3 separate regions of the Homo sapiens genome follow, and all the other regions are linked to region 1. The links are contacts of gene promoters, found by promoter capture Hi-C in blood cells and fetal thymus (Javierre and others, 2016). All regions are on one chromosome and are shown on one strand. Each heading gives the region's core, a stretch centred on a gene start or on the middle of the fragment in contact. The rest is flanking DNA. Distances are from core to core; before and after follow the strand shown. Region 1 holds the start of PTGR1 (prostaglandin reductase 1). Region 2 overlaps SUSD1 (sushi domain containing 1). Region 3 overlaps SUSD1 (sushi domain containing 1).

Region 1 (4,052 bases), core at 974-3,473:
CTGAAGCTCCTAGAACACAGTAAATATGTAGTCAACTGCCATGAAGTGACTGCATTCTAACAGTTCTCTAGCCGTCAAACTGAGACCAGACAGCACAATTACAATATCCTCAAATCCCATCATTATCATATCATGCCAACCACATTCATTTAACATTTACTATGTTTCTGGTGCTGTGCTAAGCACTTCATATAGATTACCTCATTTTATCCTTATAACTTCCCTATAAGATAGACATTAGTATCATTGCCAGTGTACGGATGAGGAAACTGAGGTTTAAAGAAATCTTCAAGACAAGGAAAAAATATAAAACAACAAAGAAATTCTTCCCAGCCACTGCTAGGCTAGAGTTTCTCTACGGCACTGAACAGTTACCGGAAGTGCGAATATTCCATTCCGTTTCTCATCTCACATGGAGTGAATTCTAAGAAAAAGCATCAAACACAAAGAACCCAATAGATAGAAGTCCATGCACCTCTTTCAGATGGAAACAGCCACGCATTTCAAGGCAGTCTCAGAACTCCTGAAAACCACCGGAGGGCGCCGCTGCTCCGCCCCATTTTCAGGTGCGTTTTTTTTTTTTTTAAATACTTTTTTTTCTCTCTTTTCTTGTAGAGAGGAGCCTCACTGTGTTGCCTAGGCGATCCGCCCGCCTCGGTCTCCCAAAGTGCTGGGATTACAGGTGTGAACCACTTGCACTCAGCCATCGGGTGCGAATTTTCTTTGGCCCAGTAGGGATTTGAGTTTAAACTCCACACCAAACCGATTTTGAGCTGAAACGCTGCACCAAAGCAAGGGAAGATGATGAAGGCTGCCCCGAGCTGGGGGTTCAGGATGTTCTGCTTGGACTGAACTCTGCCGAATCACTTGGGACCTGCGCCTTCCCGCGGGTGCATCCGCTACAAACAATCCAGTTACGAAACCATTTGGAGCTGCCAGTGATCTCCCCAGCTCCCCTACCGGTGCCGCGGGAGGGGACACGGTGACCTGGAGGGAGCACTCCCGCATTGCGAGGGAGCCAGGGGGGCGGTCTGATCTGCAGCCCGGGGTTGTTCCTTCTTTTCTTTTTTTAAAATTAAGACTTTTTTTGTGACGGAGTCTCGCTCTGTCGCCCAGGCTGAAGTGCAATGGCGCGATCTCAGCTCACTGCAACCTCCGTCTCCCGGGTTCAAGCGGTTCTCCTGTCTCAGCCTCCTGAGTAGCTGGGATTACAGGCGCCCGCCACCACGCCCAGCTAATTTTTGTACTTTTAGTAGAGACGGGGTTTCCCCATGTTGGCCAGACTGGTCTAGAACTCCTGAGCTCAAATGATTCGCCCGCCTCGACCTTCCATAGTGCTGGGATTACAGGCGTGAGCCACCGCGCCAGGCCCTACGTATCATTTTTACGGTGAGACATTTGCAGTTTACTCTGTTATTTCGAAATACACATTATTGGCTCTAGTCACTCTGCTGTGCAACAGATCTCAGAACCTACTCCTCTCGTCTCTGAACTTCGTACCCTTTGGCCAACAAGCCCCCATTCCCCCCCGAACCCGCTCCCAGCCTCTGGCAACCATCATTCTAGTCGTTATTTCTATGAGTTCAACTTCTTTAGAGTTCACACATCTTTGTCCCTTTCCCCAAAAAAGCAACCGCTGGGCTTCCAAACTCGCTACAAGTCCAGAAGCCCTCCTGGAAAGGGTCTGGCCGCAGAGGGGCCAGGTCCCGGGAAAGTCTCGCCCGCCCGAGGAGGGGGCCTGGCGCGGCGCCCGGCCTTTGCCCGCTCGCCCTTTGCTCCCACCCTCGCCTCCCGCCGCCCGCCGCCCGCTTGCCCATTCCCGAATCCCCACCCCGATCTTTCTTCTTCTACCCTCCCCCAGTTGTGCAGTCCAGCAAGTTCCCTGGCCAGCCCCCTCCCGGGTGCAGGAAGCTACCGGGTGTCCCGGGTTGTAACCAAGCTTTCCTATTCCCTCCGGCGCGCGGCTCCAAGCTCTCCAAGGAACTGCGGGGGCGGGAGGCGTCGGGACGTCGGCTCCCAAGATCCTCCGAGTGCAAGACCCAGCGGTCATTTCGACGTAAGGGGAGGAGGTCTAAGAGCAAACCTCCTCCACTGGGGCGTCTAGAAACTTGGCAGGAAGAAAGCAAGGGGGTTAGAGGAGGGAGAAAAGGGAAGGAAAGAAAGCAGGAGGTCTACTTACAGGAGCCCGAAGGTTCCACTGCCTGGGGAAGGCGGCTGGGACTGCGCAGCCGGGCGCCCGGGGTCCGACTTATGACAGGTCCCAAGAGAGGGTGGGGCCACCCCAGGGCGGGGCTGCTTCTTTAGGGTGAGAGCCCGGCCCCGAAAGGGTCACAGGAGGAAAACCAGGGTCCGGGAAATCTGAGTGCGTTTGTGTGTGTGTGTGCGCGTATCTCTGTGTGCCTATGTGCATGTGCGCGCGCGTATGTGTGCATGTGTGCGTGTGTGTGCGTGCGCGCCCGCGCGCCCGTGTGTGTGCGTGTAGGGGGTTAGGGACTCCTGATAGGAAAATTCCTAACAGAGCTTTGTCCAGCTGACACTGGACCTCCGCCTGGGGTCCTAAGTTGGAGCCCGGCGGAAATATGCCCCGTGGGGGAACCAACCGTGGCATCTGCCAAGCAGGCCGGAAGGGTCCAAAGGCAGGGCCTGGGGCGGCCGCAGCCCTAATAAGCCCCCGGTGCTGGCTCCGATCCCTGGGCTCCCCGTCAGCCCTGCCGCTTGCCCGCAGTGCAAGCTTTCGCCCAGGGCTGCGGTGCAGACACCCTGCCTGTCTGTCCCCAGTCCGCCTGCTGAACACCTACTCGCCTTCCACCAGCCAATTCAAGGTCACCTCTGTGAACCCTTGCCAGACTCCCCCAGGCAGGAGTGAGCACTCTTGCCACTGAGGCACCCCACCCATCACACCCTAGCAAACATCAGGCCTTGACCTGGCTTCTGCAAGGAGAGGTGGTCTCAGGCAGGGGTTGAACGTGAAGCTAAGTCGTTGGTATTAGACGACTGCAGGTTCGAAGCCTGCACCTGCCACTTACTAGTGGTGTAGCTTTCAAAGACTTACTTACCTTCTCCTTGCCTCACTCAGTTCAGCCATCTGCAAGATGGGGATAAGAAGAATGCCTAACTTCCAGTCATTGTGAAGATTCAATGTCTTTAATTTATTTATTTAATTTTAATTATTTTGAGGTCTTGCTCTGTCACCCAGGCTGGAGTGCAATGGTGGGCATCATAGCTCATTGCAGCCTTGAACTCCTGGACTCAGGTGATCCTCCTTCAGCCTCCCTAGAAGCTGGGATTACAGGCCCACCACCACACCTGGCTCAATGTCTCTCCTTGTAAGGATACCCGCCATATTGGATTAGAGCCCCACTTGTCAGCCTCCGTTTAACTTAAACACGTCTTTGAAGGCCTTGTCTTCAAATACTGTCAAATGGATTAGGGCTCACTAATATGGCCTCATGTAACCTTAATTACCTCTTTAAAGGCCCTATCTACAAATACAGTTACATTCTGAGTACTGGGACTTGGGGATTTTAACACATGAAATTGGGGAAGACACAGTTCAGCCCATAACAGAGTGTGTGGACCAAGCGTGGTGGACGCATGCCACAGGATATACACAGCATCAGAAGCACTGGGTTCCATGTACATAAAGCAACTTGGATGGACCCTAAAAACACAATGCCGAGAGTTGAATTCTTCACACTAATCAGAGTTGGTGGCACTTTATCCCCACTGGTCTGCCAAATTCTTTCTTTCTCACTCTCTCCCTTCTCATTAATTTATGTAACTTAATATAAAACAAAACTCCATTCCCAGGCTGGGTGCTGTGGCTCATGCCTGTAATCCTAGCACTTTTGGAGTCTGAGACAAAAGGACCACTTGAGGCCAAGCATTCAAGACTTGCGTGGGCAACATAGCTTTAACCTGGGAGGTGGAGGCTGCAGCGAGCTGCGATCGTGGCACTGCACTCTAGACTGGGTGTCTAAGTGAGATCCCGTCTCAAAAGAAAACCAAAAAAACTCAATTTCCTGCTTTTCTCCTCCTACTATAGGTAACTA
Region 2 (4,052 bases), core at 506-3,005, 500 kb after region 1:
AAAGGGAAAATCTCCTAACCAGGAAGTAGGACTCACAGGCAGACATTCAATAATAGGAGCCTGTGGAGTCCAGAACTAAAACAATTTGGGGGATCTTTCTGGGTTTAGAGAAATTCAGAGAAAAGAGTCAGAAATGGAGACAGGGAAGGAAGCATGCAAGATGATGCATTTCACTTGAAGAGTTTCCTAAGATAAATGTGGGGTGTCCTGCCCAGAAAGAAGGGAGACTCTTTCACTAAACAGATAAAGATCTTCAGCAATGGTGAAGCTTGGGTAGAAATAGGGCTCAAGGGAGCAACGAAAATGGAAAGGTTTTAATCTTTGGAACGGGCATCAAGAAAGACCTAGAGCCACCACTGCAAATGTCTAAAATTTTCAAGGAGAGTACAGTGTCAAAATGAATCCAACTACCCTGACGAGAAGACATTTCCCAATTTAAGTTTAAATTGACACGTGGTAGACTCCAGACTGCTTGGTAACCTACAGAGGCTGAACTATGGCATGCTACATTATACTTACTACTAGTAATTTAGGGAGGCAAAGGAGAAGGTAACAACAGGCTTCTTTCTGAACCTGACACCATGGGCCTCTCATTTATTATACTCATGCTAGAGTTTAGACCTCATCTCTCACCACTGTCCCCAGCTCTCTGCTCCAGCCATACTGGTTTCCATGACATTCCTAGAATATGCCAAGTATGTGCCTGCCTCAAAACCTCAGCATTTGCCAGTCTCCTATACACCAAAGGAGTAGCATCTATTACAAAACAAGATTCCTAGGTTTCAACAGCTAGAACACACTCTCCACTCAGCAGGACACTCTGGCCAAGACTCAGCAGAAAAGATGTAGGATAGAAAAAACTGGGGACTTCATGCCTTTACATTTTAGTTTATTTTACAAGGAGAGGTGGATTTATTTATTCTTATTTCTTTATCTGAGGAGATCTTGCTCTATTGCCCAGGCTGAAGTGCAGTGGCGCAATCTCGGCTCCCTGCAGCCTCAACCTCCTAGACTCAAGAGATTCTCCCACCTCAGCCTCCCAAGTAGCTGGGACCACAGGCTTATGCCACCACACCCAGCTAATTTTTGTATTGTTTATAGAGACAGAGTTTCACTATGTTGCCCAGGCTGGTCTCAAACTCCTGAGCTCAAGCAATCCACCCGCCTTGGCCTCCCATAGTGCTGGAATTAGACGTGAGCTACTGCACCCAGCTAGATTTTATTTATAGATTTTTATTTCTCTAAGAATTTAATAATTGGAGGGAATTCATATTCAATTTGCGAGCATTACTATGCAGCTGAAAATGTGTTGGGGGGTAGGTTTATGATGTCATGAGGTGCTCCTTGTGCAAACTCTGCTGATACAGACAGGACAAGGTGCCAGGCTCAATCTGATAAAAAAAATAGGATAAAAACTGAAGCCAGACACGGTGGCTCACACTTGTAATCCCAGCACTTTGGGAGGCTGAATTGGAAGACCTCACTTGAGGTCAGGAGTTCGAGAACAGCCTGGCCAACATGGTGAAACCCTGTATCTACTAAAAATACAAAAATTAGCTGGGCATGGTGGTATGCGCCTGTAGTCCCAGCTACTCAAGAGGCTGAGGCAGGAGGATCACTTGAGCCCAGGAGGTGGAGGTTACAGTGAGCCAAGATGGCACCTGGCCCTCCAGCCTGGGTGACAGAGCGAGACTCCATCTCAAAAAAAAAAAATTAATTTTCAGCCTCAGGTGCTACGTGGCTCTCATGAGTGTCTAACACATTTCAGAGTCTTTTTTTTTTTTTTTTTTTTGAGATGGAGTTTGGCTCTTGTTGCCCAAGCTAGAGTGCAATGGCGCAATCTCGGCTCACTGCAACCTCTGCCTCCCGGGTTCAGTGATTCTCTTGCCTCAGCCTCCCGAGTAGCTGGGATTACAGGCACACACCACCATGCCCAGCTAATTTTTTGTATTTTTGGTAGAATCAGGGTTTCATCATGTTAGCCAGGCTAGTCTCGAACTCCTGACCTCAGGTGATCTGCCAGCCTCGGCCTCCCAAAGTGCTGGGATTACAGTCGTGAGCCACCGCACCCGGCCCAGAGTCTTCTAAATGCAAAGGCCAAACTGCCCACCCTGACCCACAAAGAGCAGAGGTGAATATCACAGAGCGGCTTCAGGGAGGTAGCAGCAGGACCTACCCTCTTCTGCTGCTTTCCTTCAAAGGGGTAGCCTCTTCTGGTTGCCCGTAAATTTGTCTGATAAACCCACAGGATTAAAGAACAAAAGAAATAGTAGTGATGGCTGCACCACAGCCATCCCACTAGGGGGAGCTGTGGAGTTAATACAGCTGGCACCTATGTGGCTTCCTCAAAAGACTGCAAGGGAAGAATTTCTAAGGAGCCTGACCTTAATCAGGCCTCTGTTCTCTATGTCAAGTTAATTTGCTTATGCGTGGCCTAGTCCTGAGGCTGTATTGCCTGCCAGTGCCTGACACTGTGGGACCCACGTTTCTGGTCTCCTGGAAGTTCGTTCTACTTGCCGATAATGAATACCCTTAGGGTTCAGTTGTCTTAAATTTGGGGTGAGAGATAAAATGCTTTATGGAATTCTCAACTTAGGACTCCCAGGGAGCTCTGAATAAATCAGTCTATCCTTGGTCTGTGCCCTCTATGAGCCAGTACCCTTCAGGGAAGGGGATAAGTGGTAAGATTCAGGCATCCTGAACCCCAGACGCAGCTAACAAAGTTTGTTAGAACTGGAACCCCTGTCTCTTGACTCCCAAACTAGCACTCTTATGCCCGCCCACACTGCTCAATTCACATAGGTAATTTGTCCTGAGGCACAAAAAAGAAAGACGTCTACACCCACCTGCTGGGGGAGTTGCTATTGTTATTTGCACTGAGTGCCGCTTAGGAGATCTCAGCAGGGTCACATTCACCGTATAATCAGTCGTAGGGTACAGATCCAAACACACTACAGGCACTTGTTCCCTCGTTGTGAAGTTAAACGATGTTGCATGAGAAAAGTTAGCCAGATACCACCTCTGACCCAGAACGGTAAACTGTCATGAGATTAAAAGAAAGTGTTACATTAGATTTTCCATTGACTAACAGGTGCCTAGACTATTAGCAAAATGGAGTTAAAACAAGAAAGTTCCTTTTATTTATCCTTGCCCACTTAGAATTACTTTTAAGACAATAGCAAGCTAACCTGAGGAAGGACTTGACAAAGCTACCTTACCTGTCCTCACAATCAGGTATAGGACCAAGCTTAATATGCATAACTACATCTCAGATGAAGAAAATATTAGTCTATTCCAAAATAATCCCTTGATTATAACGCAAGTGAAAGAGATTACATTGGAGCTAATGGGCAAAATTATTTTTTTTCCTCCTTCCCTTCTGAATACTTCGTTCTCTCTCTCTCTCTCTCTCTCTCTCTCTCTCTCTCTCTCTGTCTCTTTTCTGAGACAGGGTCTTGTTCTGTCACCCAGGCTGGAGTGCAGTGGCACAATCTTAGTTCACAGCAATCTCAAACTCCTGGACTGAAGTGATCCTCAGCCTCCCGAGTAGTTGGAACTACAGGCATGCACCACCACACCTGGGTAATTATTTTTACAATTAATTTGTAAAGACAGGATCTTACTTTGTTGCCCAGGCTGGTCTCAAACTCTTGGCCTCAAGCCCACCTCAGCCTCCCAAAGTGCTGGGATTACAAGTGTGAGCCATTGCACCCAACCAAAATTCTTTTAGTTTCTTTTCATTGTAAGAAATCCATGGACAAGCCTCATAGAACAGAGTACTTAAACTAGGTGGGTTCCTTAACCCTACCCATGGAAGAAAAAAAAAACAAAAACATATGGGGACCACCCCAGATTATGCATTCAAAGCAAATGCCATGGTACTTCACTGGACCCTTCCTATTAGACCTCTGGTAAAAGGGCTTTTGATCCATGGAGTCATATCACACACTGTCACCTAACCATCCTCTACGCACTGCCAGCTCCAGCAGGGAATTATAGGGAAAAAACTTTCGTGAAGGTCCTATAAGTAATATGATCAGCCCTTGATCAGT
Region 3 (4,052 bases), core at 1,003-3,502, 470 kb after region 1:
AATAGTGTCTTCCACTACAAGTCATCAGCTAGATATATCTTCTCCATCAATAAAGTTATGAGACTTCACCTCCCAAGGAGAAGAAACCAATTTCTTTTCACATGTACATCCTCAGTAGGCAGCACAGGTCTTTGTACATAACCAATCGAAAAATATTTGCTAGTGACTTCTCAAGACATCTCCTTTTATTATTTATTTATTTTTATTCTTTTTTATTTCTTTCTTTCTCTTTTTTTTTTTTTTTTGTTTTTTTTTTTGAGACGGAGTCTCACTCTGTTGTCTAGGCTGGACTGCAGTGGCACAATCTCAGCTCACTGCAACTCTGCCTCCCGGGTTCAGGAGATTCTCCTGCCTCAGCCTCCCAGGTAGGTGGGATTACAAGCACCCACACCACACCCAGCTAATTTTTGTATTTTTAGTAGAGACTGGGTTTCACCATGTTGGCCAGGCTGGTCTCGAACTCACCCACCTCAGCTTCCAAAAGTGCTGGGATGGGATTACAGGCATGAGCCACCGTGCCTGGCCAACCCATCTCATTTTTAACAAATACAAGTAAATAAATAAATATTTGCTAAATTAAATTGTTACAGCTCAGCAAGCCCCTCCCCCTCTCCCAACACACACAGAAACCCTAGTTTCCAGGCTTCTGATCTAAGAATACCTTCTCATGCACGTTTTATAAAAGCTAACTTTGGCTGAGATTCAGATGCTGGTAGCAAGAGGGTCTGGGAGACACCCATCCCCACACAGCCATTTACTTGGGGGCTTGGGGTTTGTTTTGAAGCTAGAAAGCAGTTGGGAGATTTCTGGGAATGAGAGAAATACGTGGACTGTGGAAGCATGGAAGGGCAAACATGCCTCTCCTAGCGTGACCTAATGTTAGGGCTCCAGATATCAAAAGAGCCTGTGTCCACGGAAGACTTGGAAAGGAAAACAGCTGGCATGAAGGCCAGTCCCTCTGCTGACCTGTGGTACAGCTTCAGCCCCCTTGGAGCCAGGGGGGCCCCCAGGGATAAGTGTGGTACCTTGGAACCAGCCAGGGGAGATGGGTTTCTCACTGAGGACACAGGGGTACAGCATCCTTGGATGGTTTGTGGGTAACCAACCATGAAAGAGAAGCCTCGGTAAAAGAAACCAAGAGACCTAGTCCTGCACAGTCTTCCCTGAGGACATCCCATTGTGGAGGGCGGTGTCAGAGGCAGGGGCAGGGAGGATCAGGGCAGTCCTGGCTGGACCTCTCTGATAAAGTGACAATCTGATAAATGCCTGGGACACTCCTGTGTTTTCTGTTGTTTTCCTAACCGTCTGAAAAAGTACTTTCCTTTTTCTTGTTATGAATACAATGAGAGATGGGAAATTTCTTGAAGAAGTTGCCAGCCTTGGTACTGAAGACATGGGAATAAATAATTTCCTTTTCATCTTTTCTTCCCTTTGCTCCTCCAGCATGCTTGGTTCCATAATAAACATTCCATCTCAAATGATCACCATGTTGTGTAAGACAAGTGGTCTGGTTTATCTCCACATTTACGTATGTATTGGCTTTCTCACGCTCACTCTCTCTCTCTCTCTTTCTCTCTCTTCCCCACCCCGCCCCCACCCACCCCCATCCTCCTCTCTCTGGTTTCCTCTTTCTCTCTCTATATAAGAAAATGTTGCCTACAAAGCTTTTAGACTTAGCAAGAAAATAGCATACTCAGCTGGACAGTGGCTCATGCCTGTAATCCCAGCACTTTGAGAGGCTAAGGGCAGGCAGATCACTTGAGGTCAGGAGTTTGAGACCAGCCTGGACAACATGGCAAAACCTCATCTCTACTAAAAATATATTTTTAAAATTAGACGGGGCTGGTGATGTGTGCCTGTAATTCCCGCTACTTGGGAGGTCGGGGCATGAGAATCGCTTGAACCTGGGAGGCAGAGGTTGCAGTGAGTCGAGATCACACCACTGCGTAAGCAACAGAGCAAGCCTGGGCAACAGAGCAAGACTGTCTCAAAAAAAGAAAGGGAAAGGGAAAGGAAGGGAAGGAGGCCAGTGCAGTGGCTCACACCTGTGATCCCAGCACTTTGGGAGGCCGAAGTGGGCGGATCACTTAAGGCCAGGAGTTCAAGATCAGCCTGGCCAACATGGTGAAACCCCATCTCTACTAAACATATAAAATTAGCCAAGCGTGGTGGCACACACCTGTAATCCCAGCTACTTGGGAGGCTGAGACATAAGAATCACTTGAACTCAGGAGGTGGAGGTTGCAGTGAGCTCAGATCACGCCACTGCACTCCAGCCTGGGTGACAGAGCGAAATTCTGTCTCAAAACAAAAAAAAAGAAAAAGAAAATAGCACACTCAACATGTGGATGCTCTTCTGACTCTTTGGGGCCTGCATCAAGGATGAAAGTTTGTTCCTCACCCTGTCCTAAAGGGGATGCGTGCCGTGGGGCTATCCTGAAGAATTCAGTTCAATGTGCCGTCTGCAGCCTATCAGCCAAGAGTCAGAAACACCGTGAGGCCACAGCTCCATCTCACCCACCCCCTCGCCAGCCCCTGCTTTCCTGCATTCACCGAAACACTTGCCTCTGTCCCTCAACATTCCTAGAACCTTCACTGTCCTCTGAGGTCAGCGATGTATTTAAAGCACTTGTTTTCATCCTGTTCCCATCAGTAAGATTTAACGTAAGACACTCAGAAGGGAAATTCCACTCTCTTTCCTTCTGGGAAATGAGCAGCTACATTGTCCAGACCCAAATCCTTAGCCTAACACATCTGCCAAAATTCAAAAGTTCATGATTTTACCGAAATAAGGCCACACACTTCTTAGGAAACCACGAGTATCTCTGCACATCAACACATAAGCTTCTCTTTTTTCCTCCTTTTATAAAAGAAAGGGGTTGGTTTTTTTTTTTTTTTAACTCTTTCATAAGATCAAAGCAACTTGATTTTTTTATGCTTCTTTAAAATTACGAGTCCTTTAAAGTGGGTAGAGTTGGAAAATAGGCATCTCAATGAACATTAAACAGCTCAACAATGTCCCCTGGTGGCCATGAGCACAGAGAGAGGGAACTTGAGCCACTAAAGCTCTATTCAGCCTACCAAACAAGGAGTAAGTGTCTCATCAAGATGAAACCCCCTCCCCTTTACTCAAAAAAATATGCAACGGTCCTTCAAACCAGAAAAGCACAGCATCCAAATATGAGAAAGACCACAGAGTAGGAAATGGAGATGGAGTCGCTATTCATTTTAATAAGTCACCACAGAAAGAAATGCCCAGACTGAACACCACTTGTCTCTCCAGCCCAAAATGTGGGGAATTCTTTCTGGTAGCCAGAATTCATTGCCTAACCAGACATCTCCTCAACACCAATACCACCCACTGGCTGTTATTTTAAAATTTTGGGCTGTTATGCTATCTATCAGTACCATTCTTACCCACTGAGGGTTGAATGTAAAACATACAGACAAAAATCACTGTCTTCAGGAAGCTCCTATTTTAGTGGGAGAGAAAGAAAATAAAAAAAAAATAAGTTTTTAGAAAACAAGCTCTAGGCTGGGCACAGAGACTCATGCCTATAATCTCAGCACTTTGGGAGGTGAGATGGGAGGATCACTTGAGGCCAGAAGTTCAAGACCAGCCTAGGCAACATAGGGAGACCCTCATCTCTACAAAAAATAAAAACAAAAAAATCCCTTTTGTAATTAGCCAGGCATGGTGGTGAGCGCCTATAGTCCCAGCTACTCAGCAGGCTGAGGCAGAAGGATTGCTACAGCCCAGGGGCTCAAGGCTGCAGTGAGTTATGATTGCACCACTGCACTCCAGCCTGGGTGACAGAGTGAGACCCTATCTCTAAAAACTAATAATTAATATTTTTTATTAATATGAAGCTCTATGAAGAAATTGAAGCAGGGTAAGTAGATACAGAGTACTAGCGTGGAGGCTGGTGATGGCAGTTGAGCAGGCACCTGAACAACTATGGAGAAGCCATATGTTGACAGTGTCCCAGGAAGTGTGAACTGCAGATGGAAAAGTCTGGAGGCTGGAAAAACTTTGACCCATTGAAGGAACT

Evidence for each region. The method cuts DNA at HindIII sites, captures the fragments that hold promoters and counts their contacts. A CHiCAGO score of 5 or more calls a contact.
Region 2: a fragment that was not itself captured here is called in contact with the fragment with the promoter of PTGR1 in region 1 in 3 of 17 cell types (activated CD4 T cells, total CD8 T cells and total CD4 T cells); the score reaches 5.8 in activated CD4 T cells.
Region 3: a contact is called between a fragment that was not itself captured here and the fragment with the promoter of PTGR1 in region 1, in 13 of 17 cell types (naive CD4 T cells, total CD8 T cells, naive CD8 T cells and 10 more). The highest score is 19.4, in naive CD4 T cells.

What each region holds. Positions count from the first base shown.
Region 1 is chr9:111,597,424-111,601,475 of GRCh38, forward strand. It overlaps PTGR1 (prostaglandin reductase 1), which reads right to left and starts at 2,224. Exons shown (of 10, transcript NM_001146108.2): 1 at 2,180-2,224; 2 at 1-9. RefSeq lists an enhancer at 2,075-2,647. The HindIII fragment of the contact is 792 bases long and covers 1,938-2,729 here.
Region 2 is chr9:112,095,624-112,099,675 of GRCh38, forward strand. SUSD1 (sushi domain containing 1) reads right to left here. Exons shown (of 17, transcript NM_022486.5): 10 at 2,847-3,039. Among named protein-coding and RNA genes, the nearest start is that of LINC02977, 57 kb to the left of the region's middle. RefSeq lists enhancers at 1-60, 2,110-3,029, 3,030-3,948 and a silencer at 2,269-2,388. The HindIII fragment of the contact is 2,979 bases long and covers 267-3,245 here.
Region 3 is chr9:112,071,912-112,075,963 of GRCh38, forward strand. All of the region lies in intron 12 of SUSD1 (sushi domain containing 1), which reads right to left. Among named protein-coding and RNA genes, the nearest start is that of LINC02977, 34 kb to the left of the region's middle. RefSeq lists an enhancer at 1,805-1,974. The HindIII fragment of the contact is 1,180 bases long and covers 1,663-2,842 here.